Linked DNA regions of Homo sapiens: all the other regions are linked to region 1. Evidence: promoter capture Hi-C in human tissues and cell types (Jung and others, 2019). All regions are on one chromosome and are shown on one strand. Each heading gives the region's core, a stretch centred on a gene start or on the middle of the fragment in contact. The rest is flanking DNA. Distances are from core to core; before and after follow the strand shown.

Region 1 (3,008 bases), core at 166-2,665:
CGTTAATAGGTATACAAATACCAGTAGCAGATTGAGACAGCCATAACAGATGCATAGACAAAGATTATTTCCTGTTAAGAGGAGTGAACAATTATTTATGGGGAATAAGGAGACTAAGAGAGAAAAGAATCAGAAAAAAGCGCCTCCAGGAGGCAGCATGTAAGCGGTACCTTTCAGAAAAGAAACGGTCGTGCCAAGATAATTACAAGTGACAGATGACAAGCTTTTCTGGGAAACATTGTCCAAGAAGGAATAGGCAAGAACTGCAGTCAAGCAGAATTACATATGCAAAAGAGCAGTGAGAAATAAGAGAAAATGGCAAATTGCAGACGGCCCTGAATGCTGGGCTAAGAAGTCTGGCTTGAGATAAACGTCCAGCTAAAGCAGGTCTGAGCGTTTTTTCCAGAGAGGTGAGGGAGAAGGGCACGTATCTATTAGGTTGATGCAAAAGTAATTGCGGGTTTGCCATTATTTTCAGTGGCAAAAACCACAATTACTTTTGCACCAATTTATTTATTTATTTTTAAGACAGAGTCTCGCTCTGTTGTCCAGGCTGAAGTGCAGTGGCATGATCTCAGCTCCACTGCAACCTCCGCCTCCCCGGCTCAAGTGATCCTCGTGCTTCAGCCTCCCGAGTAGCTGGGACTGCAGGCATGCGACATCACGCCCGGCTAATTATTTTATTATTTTATTATTTTTTATTTTTAGTAGAGACGGGGTTTCACCATGGTGGCCAGGCTGGTCTCGAACTCCTGAGCTCAGGCCATCTTCCCTCCTCGGCCTCCCAAAGTGCTGGGATTACAGGCGGGAGCCACCGCGCCCGGCCTACCGTCCTACGAGGTAGGCATCAGGATCCCTCCACAGCGAAGGCGCCCCCACTACCTATCTGTCTACAGGCGTGCCTTTTACGGGCTGTGCTATGGACAGCACTTGGGATGTCAGATTGACCACTAATAAGGTAGATCCGTATACACTGCTGCGGGGCTGAGTAACTGGTAGAGGGTCCCACAGTTAGAAAGCACCTGGACCTTGGCTGGAATTGGCGGAAAGTCCAGGCAGCGGAGAGGCGCGGTCCCTGGGACTGGGTGCGCTCTTGGCACCAGGGTCAGGGCCCACAGGCTCCAGGAAGCCCACGCGCTCCGCCGGGTCGCACCAGGTTGGCTGTCCGAACGCAGCCAGCTGGCGGGGCGGGGCCTTCCAGCTGGGGGCGGGGTCTTGACAGCTAGGGGGCGGGGCCTTGCAGCTGGTAGGGTGGGGCGGGCCGCGGGCTGTGGGCTTTGGGAGGGGTGCGGACTAGCAGAGGCCGAGAGCGGCGAGCCGCGAGCCAGGCAGTCCGGGGCATCCAGACTGCAGGCCGCGCCCAGGCCGCGCCCAGGCTGCGCCGCCCGCCTGCCTCCCGCGCTGCCGCGTCGCCAGTGCTAGCGCTCCTCTCCAGCATGCTGCGGCGGGGCAGCCAGGCGCTCCGGCGCTTCTCCACTGGCCGGGTGAGTCCGGCCCGGGCGAGCGTCCCGGCTGTCACCCTGTCCTGGTTTCCAGACTCCGGGGCGGGAGGGCCGGGGCGGTGGGGCTGGGGATGAGCAGCGATGCTTAGACTTTGCTAAACACCAAGACAGCGTTTAAAACAAACAAACAAACAAACAAAAACAGAGAGACCTCAGAGGAGGGCTTGGGGAGGGTCCCGGATGGGAACTGGCACGCAGGCCATTGTCTTCTGCCGGGAGGGGGCTGAGGATGCAGTTTTTGGACGTGTCAAGTCTGGCTGGGATGGCAAGGTGGGAACAGTCACTTGGTAAGGAGGACAGAGTCTGCTTCCTTTCCTTTTTCACTTCAATCATGAGATCCCTGGTCAAGAGCTGGAGCCATATGGAACCGAGACTGTCTCCTGGAGGAGGGGAGTATCAAGTCAATAGGGTCCTCGTTGGCGGCCTGGGAGGTGTAAGCGCTCGAGACTGGCACGCAGGGCCGGTTCAGATAATGGCACTCAAAGCTGATGGCTGCAAGCTCAGTATTCCTGAGCTGAGCTGCAGATGGCAAAATTTCTAGAATTGCCAGGCGCTGCAGAGGCAGCCACGCTGGAACACTATTCTACTGTAGCACAAGAACCGAGCTCTGGCCCAGCCCCGCGCCTTGGAATTGCATCAGCTCCTCCAGAAATGGAACCGAGAGAGGACACGTTGCACTGCGGTGCTGCCTTCAGCACCCAGGGGGCCTCGGGACTGTTTAGGGAAGAGAGAGAGAGAAAAAAAAAAAATAAAAACTGTCTTATGTATCGTATCTTTTATAGGAAGTACATAAAAGAATTTGCTTATCGATTCTTTTTCTCGGCCATGCCAAAGCCATATGTACATATGTATATATTCAGATGTAAAAAACTTGGAGGCAGAGAGAAGTCTTGAGTAGCACCAAAAACTGGCCCAAACTTGCATCAAAGGAAAAGCTTTCTGTATCCCAGACAACCCCAAATAATAAGAATTCGTTTTACTCTTTGCAACCAGTTCTAGTTACTTTGAGGTATAGTCACCTTTTATAAAACGAGGGGTGGGGGTGGGGAAGACCTGCTCTGCTAGGACTTTGGCCTGCTCTCCTGGACCCCTCATTAGCTTCCCCCACCACGTGGCACATGGGATCCCAGATGGATAGCACAGAAAGCAACGGGCTGTGCCCAATGCCTGAGCCTGTTTTGTTGGCCTCCTCTGTCAACACCTTTCACTGACTTGTCTTTTTTGGTGACCAGAAGGAAGTCTTGCAGAATGAAAAGATTTTGATAGTGCGGTTTGCATAAGATTTCAGTAATAAAAGGTAAACATCTCAGGTGGCAAATGGCATAAACAAAACTATGGATGTGGGGAAGAACTGGCGTGATCAGGGTCTAACTGTACGCAGGGGTGCATATGGAAAAGCAGTGATACTCATGGCTGGGAAGAAGACAGTTTCCTCAGTGGTCGAAAGGAAGCTACTGAGTGGTGAATGAAAAATGTGGGATGTTTTATCCTGTAGAAAATGTTCTG
Region 2 (3,008 bases), core at 269-2,768, 960 kb after region 1:
TACAGAATTGTGCAGAGAATCCGCATGCTTCTTATACCAAGTAACAGTTTGAACGGAGACATTGTCTATTTTGGAACTTCTATGAGAAAGCAAAGAAAGTTCGCAAGCAGGAGCAAAAGGAAAATCAGGGTTTAGCAGGAGAGCTGGAAGTGATGGATACAGGTGAATTCCAGTTGATGACTTAAGCTGATTTTTTTTTTTAAGAGACAGGTTCTCACTACATTGACCAGGCTGGTCTGGAACTCTTGAGCTCAAGCAGTCCTCCTGCTTCAGCTTCTGAGCAGTTGGGGCTACAGGTACATGACACTGTGTACAGCTTTACTAAGCTGATCATCATTCCAGGGATAAATTAGGTTGTAAGTCAGGGTTGCCTGTGGTACTATATTTGAAGATTATGCACTTAAAAAGAAAGAGGCATATGCTTTAGATTCATTTCCTTGTCGCTATTGGCCTTATGCTTATATCACTTATGGAAGATGGATAGGGAAATCTTGAATCGTGGACAAATTGTGGGAAAGTTTCCAAATCAAGAAATATAGGCTGGTTGCGGTGGCTGATGCCTGTAATCTCAGCATTTTGGGAGGCTGAGGTAGGTGGTTTGTTTGAGCCCAGGAGTTCCAGACCAGCCTGGGCAACATAGCAAAACCCTGTCTCTGCTAAAAATACAAAAAAATTGGCCAGGCATGGTGGTGCATGCCTGTAGTCCAGCTACTCAGGAGGCTGAGGTGGGAGGATTGCTTCAGCCTGGGAGGTGGATTCTGCAGTGAGCTGTGATCACGCCACTGCACTCCAGCCTGGGCCACAGAGTAAGACCCTGTCTCAAAAAAATAATTAATTTTTTAAAAAAGAAATATAAATTCTCTTTTAGTAAGCTTAAGGCTATGAAAAGTATAATTGATGCATCATCCTGTGACAGTTTATAAGTGTTGAATCTGTTACGTTTGTTAGTACTTTGAAAAGTATTGAAAAACTGTTTTTCTCCTCATAGATGGATGGTGACAGTTCTACAACAGATGCTTCTCAACTAGGAATCTCTGCAGACTATATTGGAGGAAGTCATTATGTTATACAGCCTCATGATGGTAAGCAAGCCACAATTAGAACCAAATTCTCAAGTTGAAGCAAGTTAGAAAGTGGACATTTCATTAATATGGTGTTCTAGGCTACTTGTGTCTTTATAGGAAAATTTACAATCTTGTGTTACGGTTCAATGAGAAAGTCTAAAAAGGCGTACCATGCTATTTTTATTAGAAATAGTCTTCAAAAGAATGAGTCCTTGAAAAGACTTTTACTATAAAAATACACCTTGTCTAAAATCTGTACAGTTTCTTTTAAAATTTGTTATCGACTTCCTGTTTAAATGTTAAATAAGAAATTTATAATCAATTGATAGGGTAACTAAAATAATTATTTAGAGGGTGAGTTAAATTTCTAGCTATTATATTTCTTGCACTTATGATTTATTTTTGGTTTTCATTCAATATTAACTTTGAACTATGTCAGGTATTAGAATGGTAGTGTTGGCTCAGTGTGGTGCTCACACCTATAATCCCAGCAGTTTGGGAGGGCAAGGTGGGCAGATCACTTGAGCTCAGGAGTTCGAGACCAGCCTGGGCAACATGGTGAAACCCCACCTCTACAAAAAAATTAAAAAATTAGCTGTGCTTGGTGGCATGTACCTGTAGTCCCAGCTACTTAGGGGGCTGGGGGCTGAGGTGGGAGGATTGCTTGAATCTGGGAGGTAGAGGCTTCAGTGAGCCATGTTTGCACCACTGCACACTCCAGCCTGGGTGACAAAGTGCAAAGTGAGACCCTGTCTCCAAAAAAAAAAAAAAAAAAAAAGGCAGTGTTATGTTGGCCTATCAGAAATAATTTACTTTTGTGGCATTTTGGTTTGTAAAAAAAATTTTTTTTTTTTTTTTATTTTTTATTTTTTTTGAGATGGAGTCTTGCTCTGTCGCCCAGGCTGGAGTGCAGTGGCACAATCTTGGCTCACTGCAACCTCCGCCTCCTGGGTTCAAGCAATTCTCCTGCCTCAGCCTGCCCGTTAGCTGAGATCACAGGCGCCCAGCACCATGCCCAGCTAATTTTTTTTTAGTAGAGACAGGGTTTCGCTGTGTTGGTCAGGCTGGTCTCAAACTCGTGACCTCAGATGATCTGCCTGCTTCAGCCTCCCAAAGTGCTGGGATTATAGTCATGAGCCACCACGCCTGGCCTGATTTGTAAAATTTTTAAAAATTGAGATATATTTTTAGAAGAAACTTGCCAGAGGGATTAATTTCATCCTGAAACGGATATTCAAATAAATTAATTCTGATAACATCATTTTAAACACATAAAAACGTAAATTGAATCAACTTAAGTGCCTTGCCTCCTTACTTAGTACATATGAAGAGTGGGCAGTTTACTTACAGGATACTGCATTTAGTCATAAAAGGATGTTATTGGTACTGCGCAAGCTTCAGTTATAGCTAAATTTATATAATTTGAAAAGTCCCTTTTTGTATGAACAGTTGGATCACTGCTCTAGCTTTGTTCAAAAACTAGTTACATTAGTAAGCCAACTGGATCAGTAATAATCAAGTCCAGTTTTTCCATTCTTTAAAGAATTTTATATAAACTTTATACAGACAAGACAACTTTATATCAACTTTAAAAGTTTTATATAGACTTTTACATAAATGAGTTTATATAAACTTGGGTTTGGAGAAACATACAACCTCTTAATCTAGCAGTATTGAAGGAGCCATAGGTTACGGTCTGTAAGTTTTATAGCTAAGTCGTATAATAAATATTTATGAGTACCTACTCTGTGGAAGGTGCTGTACCAAGCTGTAGGAAACACAAAGCTGATTCGTGACATTAAGTAGCAAAAATCTAATAGGAGAAATGAGGAATAATAAAAATTCTAAAAATGTGTAAGAGAAAAGGCATAGAGAAGCACTTACATTTTATGAAAGAAAAGATCATTTTTGAAGGTGGTATGGAGATGTTATTTGAGATTTTTG
Region 3 (3,008 bases), core at 279-2,778, 640 kb after region 1:
TCAGCCCCACTCACATCACCAGACCAAGAATGGGGCCAGGTAGTTTCTCCAAGAGGCAACTACCTGGAGAGGCCGAGATGAATTCTATTGTAGTTAATAAGAGAGGACACTGCATGTGTTAGTTTGCTATTGCTGCTGTAACAAATTACCACAAACTTAGTGACTTCAAACAACACAAATGTGTCATTTTACAGTTCTGGAGTTCCAAAGTACAAAACCAGTCTCAGTGGGCCAAAATCAAGGTGTCAGCAAGGCTGCCTCTCCTCCAGAGGCTGTGGGGAAAAGGTCTGTTTCCTAGTCTTTTTATAGCTTCTGGAGGTCTGTCACTTGCATCGCTTGCCTCATGGCCCCATCCTCCATCTTCAAAGCCACTGTATAGCCTCTCTCTTCCTCTCTCTCTTCCCCTCTCTCTTCCCCTCTCTCTTCCCCTCTCTCTCTTCCTCTCTTCTCTTCTTCTCTTGTCCTCTTCTCTTCTCCTCCTCTCCTCCTCACTTCCTCTCTTCCTCTCTTCCTCTCTCTCTCTCTCTCTCTCTCTCTCTCCCCTCCACCCCACCTCCTGCTTCCCTCTTACAAGAATGCTTGTAATTACATCAGGTCTACCCAGATAATCCAGGATAATCTTTCCATTTCAAAATCCTTAATTGGGTCACATCTGCAAAGTCTCTTCTGCCATTCAAGGTAACATAATCACAGGTTCCATGGATTAGGACAGGAATATATTTGGGAGGCCATTTTTGTGGATGGGAAAGAACAGATATTCCTTACAGAATCTGCACCTGCCCATAGATTATAAGAGACAATAAAGATCTAATGCTAGCAACAAATAATATGTAGCAAGAAGTTTAGTAGAGTCAAGTGTGAAGATATAAATTCAAGTCTAAACTCCACCATTAACTAGCCCTCTTTGACTCAGTAGTTTTGTCTGTATAATGGACATGTCTACCTCAATCTCTGAGTTATCATGACCAAAAGGTCATGAAAACACGTTTACAAATGCAAACTATCATTTCTAGAATGAAAATCATGGAATGAAACTGGGGGATATGAAATTTCACTCACCTTTGCAGTCATTCACACCAACCCTAATCTATGAGGCTTCTTTCTCCAGAGTAAGGAAGGCTCCATCTAGAGCAAAAAGGTCATTCATCAGATTTGGATATTAAAGTAGCATGAGGCTGTGCACAGTGGCTCATACCTGTAATCCCAGCACTTTGGGAGGCCGAGGCAGGTGGATCAACTGAGGTCAGGAGTTTGAGCCCAGCTTGGCCAACATAGTGAAACCCTGTGTCTACTAAAAATACAAAAAAAATAAAAAAAATTTAGCTGGGCGTGGTGGTGCACGCCTATGATCCCAGCTACTCGGGAGGCTGAGGCAGGAGAATCGCCTGAACCCTGGAGGCAGAGGTTGTGGTGAGCTCAGATCATGCCACTGCACTCCAACGTGGGTGACAGAGCAAGACTCTGTCTCCAAAAAAAAAAAAAAAAGTAGCATAAAAAGCCAGAATTTGCCAAGAGATAAAAGGATTTTCTATACTCTCCAAGGTCCTGTTATGTGGCCATTAGGTCATATAATGTGTTAACACATTAACAACAGCTAAAACTGGCTGCCCAGGTGCCAGTTTTACTGCAGATATGATGTGGTTTTAGAGACATGGGAAGCCATGTATTCCCACCTCAGTGTTCTATGGGCAGGAGAAAAGACAAAGAGGCAGAGTGAGCAGTTCAAATGCCAGCGTTCTTGTTCCCTCTTCCCATCCGCCACTTTGGGACAAACACAGATGGATAATAGGACCCAAGGGGCACTTAGGTTACTAGACAGTGAGGAGGTCATGCTAGACTTCCCCATGTGTACCAGTGGAGGGGAGAGCATGGCAAAGAAGTCCCCATGTGGTCACATCCAGCCCAGGGTGGCAGCATTGGTGGAGGGAAGTGCCTGTCTGGCTAGATGGCCTGCCACAACCCTCCTGGCTTTCCATGGCCTGCCCAGGATGTACAGGGCTTCAGAGAGCAAATGGTCTCCAGCAGGACCTAGAACCTACTGTGACTCAATGGCCTCCAGTCCAGGGATGAGGGAGATACATGTGGCTCTGAGGCCTCTGGCAGAAAAGAGTTAACATAGTCAGTTTGAGACTGCTTGCAAGGTTGGCCCTTGGCTGGCATCTACATTGGATTTGGGGTGGGTTCCCAGCACTCCCAGAAAGGACAGGAGCAGTTCGCTGCGCCTGAACTCTTTGTACAAAAATGTGGTTTATGCTGAACACCTGCCTTCCTTCTGGAAGCCCGGACTTTTGGTACATCCTAGGCCACAGATGCTTATGTGACTGACCCTCAGTAAAATCCTTGGACTGACTCCTAGGCTTAGTGGCACTTCCCTGGTAGACAGCATTCCACATAGGTTGTCACAATTCTTTCTAAATAAACTAAGTATACCCTGTGTGACTTCTTGGAATTTTGCATCTTGTCTCCTCCAGCTTTGCCCCATGTGTCTCCTTCTTTCACTCATTTTATTTTGCACCTGTTCACTATAATAAATCATAGCCATGACTGTGACTATATGCTGAGTCCCATGAGTCCTCCTAGCAAGTCTTTGGAGCTGAGGGTGGTTGTGGGGATCCCCGACTCAGGCCTTTCTTCCCCTGCCTCCAAGATGTCCCTTGAGTTCTCTTCTATACACCCAGCTGACTCTTGCAGAGAAGCAGGAGTGGCATGGAATCTGAACCACTGAGTGTGCAGCTGACAGGCACGTCCCTTCCAGAGGTTGTGTATATTACTTATTGGACTAAATGTTGATTTCTCTCCTTCTTACCATTCACTACATTTTTGGATACTTCTAGGTGTAATGTGAACAAACACTCAAGCCCTGTGTCATTGTTATTGTAAAATGTCACTTTCTCACTATTCCCATGTGTCCACCTCTACCCTCCCCACTCAGCAGGTGACAGGGCAATCTGTTCACGAAAGAATTGGTCTCCCCCTCATCAGGCCAGTTCCTGGGACTCTCCAGCACC
Region 4 (3,008 bases), core at 1-2,500, 620 kb after region 1:
ATGCATTCATCCAGCAAACATTCTATTGAGAACCCACTGTTGTCAGACACCGTGCAAAAAACATCGGGATTAAAATGGAGTCTAAAACCTGGTCCTTGCCCTATAAAATATTCTTAAGGAAGACTATTAACTCAGAGTATCAAAAACTTCTAAATGTAACTATCCTACTGACAAGGCCCACTTCTGCTAAACCCTTGTGCAACTGATGACCAATTACTCAAATTTGCAAATTAATCAATTCTATGAATTAGAAAAGATAATGGGCCCCAGATTAGAATCAGAGAGAGGGACAGCCAGCCTTGCCAGCTGTCTCCTTTTTGTCTCTTTTTTTTTTTTTTTTTTGAGACACAGTTTCACTCTGTCGCCCAGGCTGGAGTGCAGTGGTGCCATCTTAGCTCACAGCAACCTCTGCCTCCTGGGTTCATGCTATTCTCATGCCTCAGCCTCCGGAGTTCCTGGGATTACAGGCGTGTGCCACCACACCCAGCTAATTTTTGTATTTTTAGTAGAGATGTGGTTTCGCCATGTTGGCCAGGCTGGTCTCGAACTCCTGAGCTCAAGTGATGCACCCGCCTCAGCCTCCCAAGGTGCTGGGATTCCAGGTATGAGCCACCGCGCCCTGCCTTCCTTTTTTTCTTTCTCTCCCTCCTCTCATACCCTCCAGCCACCAACGAAGCCTGGAACCCATTGCTTTTGCAATACTATTTTTCTATTTCACATGTAGGTATCTGGAACCCCTGCCAGAGGCCTCCAAATTTTTAGCTACACAATCCGTGCCATGCTGTGGTCCCTTCTGCCTCTCCCAGGGTGATCTGGAGAGACAGAAACTGCAGAGCCAGGCTGAAGGATCAGCTCTCCTTACCCCCAAGATACTTCAGAGAAGCAAGGATCTTTAACTTTTAAAGAAATTCAAACCAGTGAAAGAGATTCCACATCAGTGGTCATTAACAGTGTAGCTTAATAAAATGAACCCCTCAAAAAGAAAATGTTTAATGTAGATTTGAAAGTATATTTTTATGCCCCGTGTAATGATAAACTGTTGACACAGAGCTTTTGTGGACTGTAAGTAATCTGAAATAAGGAAGGCCTTTCAACTGAACTATCTGTAATTCTACATTCAACACAATGTTTTGAAAGTAGTATTTGCTATGGACTGGAGGGAAATATCAGAAAAGTATATTTATAGAGATCTAAATAATAAACAATGGGAGAAAATAGGACTAGAGGGGGACATAAAGGATGGGGCAGGATCATCGACAGAGGATCTTTTTCAGCACAAGCTTAGAAAAGGTTCTCTGCCTCTTCCAAAAGGCTAGGCTGAAAAGATATGATGTCACTTTCAAGTCAACTTAAGACTAACAAGGGCTGGAAATTTTCACAAAGTGACAATTACAAGTTGGAAGTTTCTTTCTAGTATCTTTGGCTAGAAAGTTATTTCCCAATTCTCACAAAGAATTCCATGACAATTGTATTTCCCTGGGCAATTAACAGGTACACAGAAGCTCAAGCGCATTCCTGCTGAAGGCTGACACTCATCCGTGTTCTGGGCATTCGTACAGAGCATTACTGGCATTCACGGTCCCAGCGAAACCTGAACACAGCTCTAGAGTCTAGACCAAATCACCGGCCCCTTGTTTAAACTGTTTGAACCCGAGTGTATCTGTACACCACCAGTCCCCTGGCGCTCTGGGGTGAGTCTGGCCCGGTCTCCGGTGGGCCCTGGAGCTTGGCACTCTGAGATACCCCTGGCTGTCTGGCCCTGCCCACTGCAACCAAGGCCTGCCTGCCGGAATGCAAGCCAGGTCCATTTTTAAATTCCTTTATAAGTTTCACAACCGCAGGTTTGGGTGAGGAGACAAACACCGCTGTAGTTTGCTGACATTAAACTAAAAATACCCAGCTGCAAACAAAAGCCATCTTTAACAGGGCTGGCTCGGACGTCCTGAGGTTACATGTGGTAGAGTCGGACCATATCCTTGGCAGTGTGGCTGCCTTAACAACTGCTCCAGACCGAGTGGGGCAAAGGGGCCGTCTGTCCCTGCGCTGTCAAGGAATCTGCAGCCTGCAGCCCTGCCTGTTTGATGGAAAGAACAGCTTTATTCCTCTGCCATCGACCCAAACGCAGGCTTGATGAATTCGGGACTGCGTCTGTTTAAAGTGTTAGATACACAGTGAAAGGAGAAGGCGGGAGGCAAAAATGAAAAACACCAACCCCACTTCCCTGGAAGGAAATGCGTTTCCACCTCCCTCCTCCTTGCAATTAGAAAAGCAAATTATTGCTGTGACTACGCTGAGAAAGGCAACTCGGAGGCGTAGAAAATGGATTTCTGAGCCAACGTGGCCCGGCAGGGGGCTGCTAAGGGAGGGTAAAAGGGAGCAGGGGAGCCACGGCTTGGCGGGGAGACCCGCGTTACCCGGAAGGCTTCTCGGAACGTTCTACCTGTTGGGCTTCGCAGCCGAGCTGCTCACCCCCGGCCGCCGCGCTCGAGGGCGCCCCTCCCTCTCCAGAACCCAAACTTTCCCTCGCACCCCTAGGAAGCGACGAGCCTCGTCCCTCCCCCAGTCCAGATTTCGGACGTGGAACTTTGCCTGAGCCACAAGGGACCGGAGGAATGGGGTTCATTCCCACGCCGCCCGGGGGATTCCCGTTGCTCGGATCCCAGAAGTGGGGGATGCAAACGGACGGTCAGCCCAGGACCTGGCCAAAGTTTCCTCCAAAACTGCAGTGGTCAAGGCGTGACCCAGGAGCTCGGAGTTTCCAGCTCAGGGCTGGGGGCTGGAGCAGGCCCCGGGGCACCAGCCGCAAGGTCACTGCGGAGCCGGACCCCGGGGGCAAACGGCCGGCGCGTGGTGGAGGGGCAACGCTGGGCACCCGACCACTCTCCACACCTGCTCAGCTCTGCGCGGAGCCCGGGACACGTGGGAGCCCAGTCCCGGGCTCCCAGCCTGCTGCAGGGACTCGCAACCTCGCCGGGGCGTACACCCTTCGCCCCCGGCCCGGCAACCAG

What was found. The method cuts DNA at HindIII sites, captures the fragments that hold promoters and counts their contacts. A contact is called where the count stands out against the background at its distance.
Region 2: a fragment that was not itself captured here is called in contact with the fragment with the promoter of ALDH1L2 in region 1 in 2 of the 25 tissues and cell types used here (lymphoblastoid cells and mesenchymal stem cells).
Region 3: a fragment that was not itself captured here is called in contact with the fragment with the promoter of ALDH1L2 in region 1 in 1 of the 25 tissues and cell types used here (lymphoblastoid cells).
Region 4: a contact is called between a fragment that was not itself captured here and the fragment with the promoter of ALDH1L2 in region 1, in 2 of the 25 tissues and cell types used here (bladder and lymphoblastoid cells).

Annotation. Positions count from the first base shown.
Region 1 is chr12:105,082,865-105,085,872 of GRCh38, reverse strand. ALDH1L2 (aldehyde dehydrogenase 1 family member L2) reads left to right here and starts at 1,415. Exons shown (of 23, transcript NM_001034173.4): 1 at 1,415-1,484. The coding sequence starts at 1,437. RefSeq lists a silencer at 1,108-1,537 and enhancers at 2,038-2,277, 1,772-2,572. The HindIII fragment of the contact is 4,053 bases long and covers 1-3,008 here.
Region 2 is chr12:104,126,498-104,129,505 of GRCh38, reverse strand. NFYB (nuclear transcription factor Y subunit beta) reads left to right here. Exons shown (of 8, transcript NM_006166.4): 3 at 989-1,082. Among named protein-coding and RNA genes, the nearest start is that of NFYB, 10 kb to the left of the region's middle. The HindIII fragment of the contact is 6,155 bases long and covers 1-3,008 here.
Region 3 is chr12:104,440,635-104,443,642 of GRCh38, reverse strand. No RefSeq gene overlaps it. Among named protein-coding and RNA genes, the nearest start is that of CHST11, 15 kb to the left of the region's middle. The HindIII fragment of the contact is 4,879 bases long and covers 1-3,008 here.
Region 4 is chr12:104,457,998-104,461,005 of GRCh38, reverse strand. The region is part of intron 1 of CHST11 (carbohydrate sulfotransferase 11); the gene reads right to left. Among named protein-coding and RNA genes, the nearest start is that of CHST11, 2.6 kb to the right of the region's middle. RefSeq lists silencers at 2,520-2,579, 2,740-2,879. The HindIII fragment of the contact is 4,193 bases long and covers 1-3,008 here.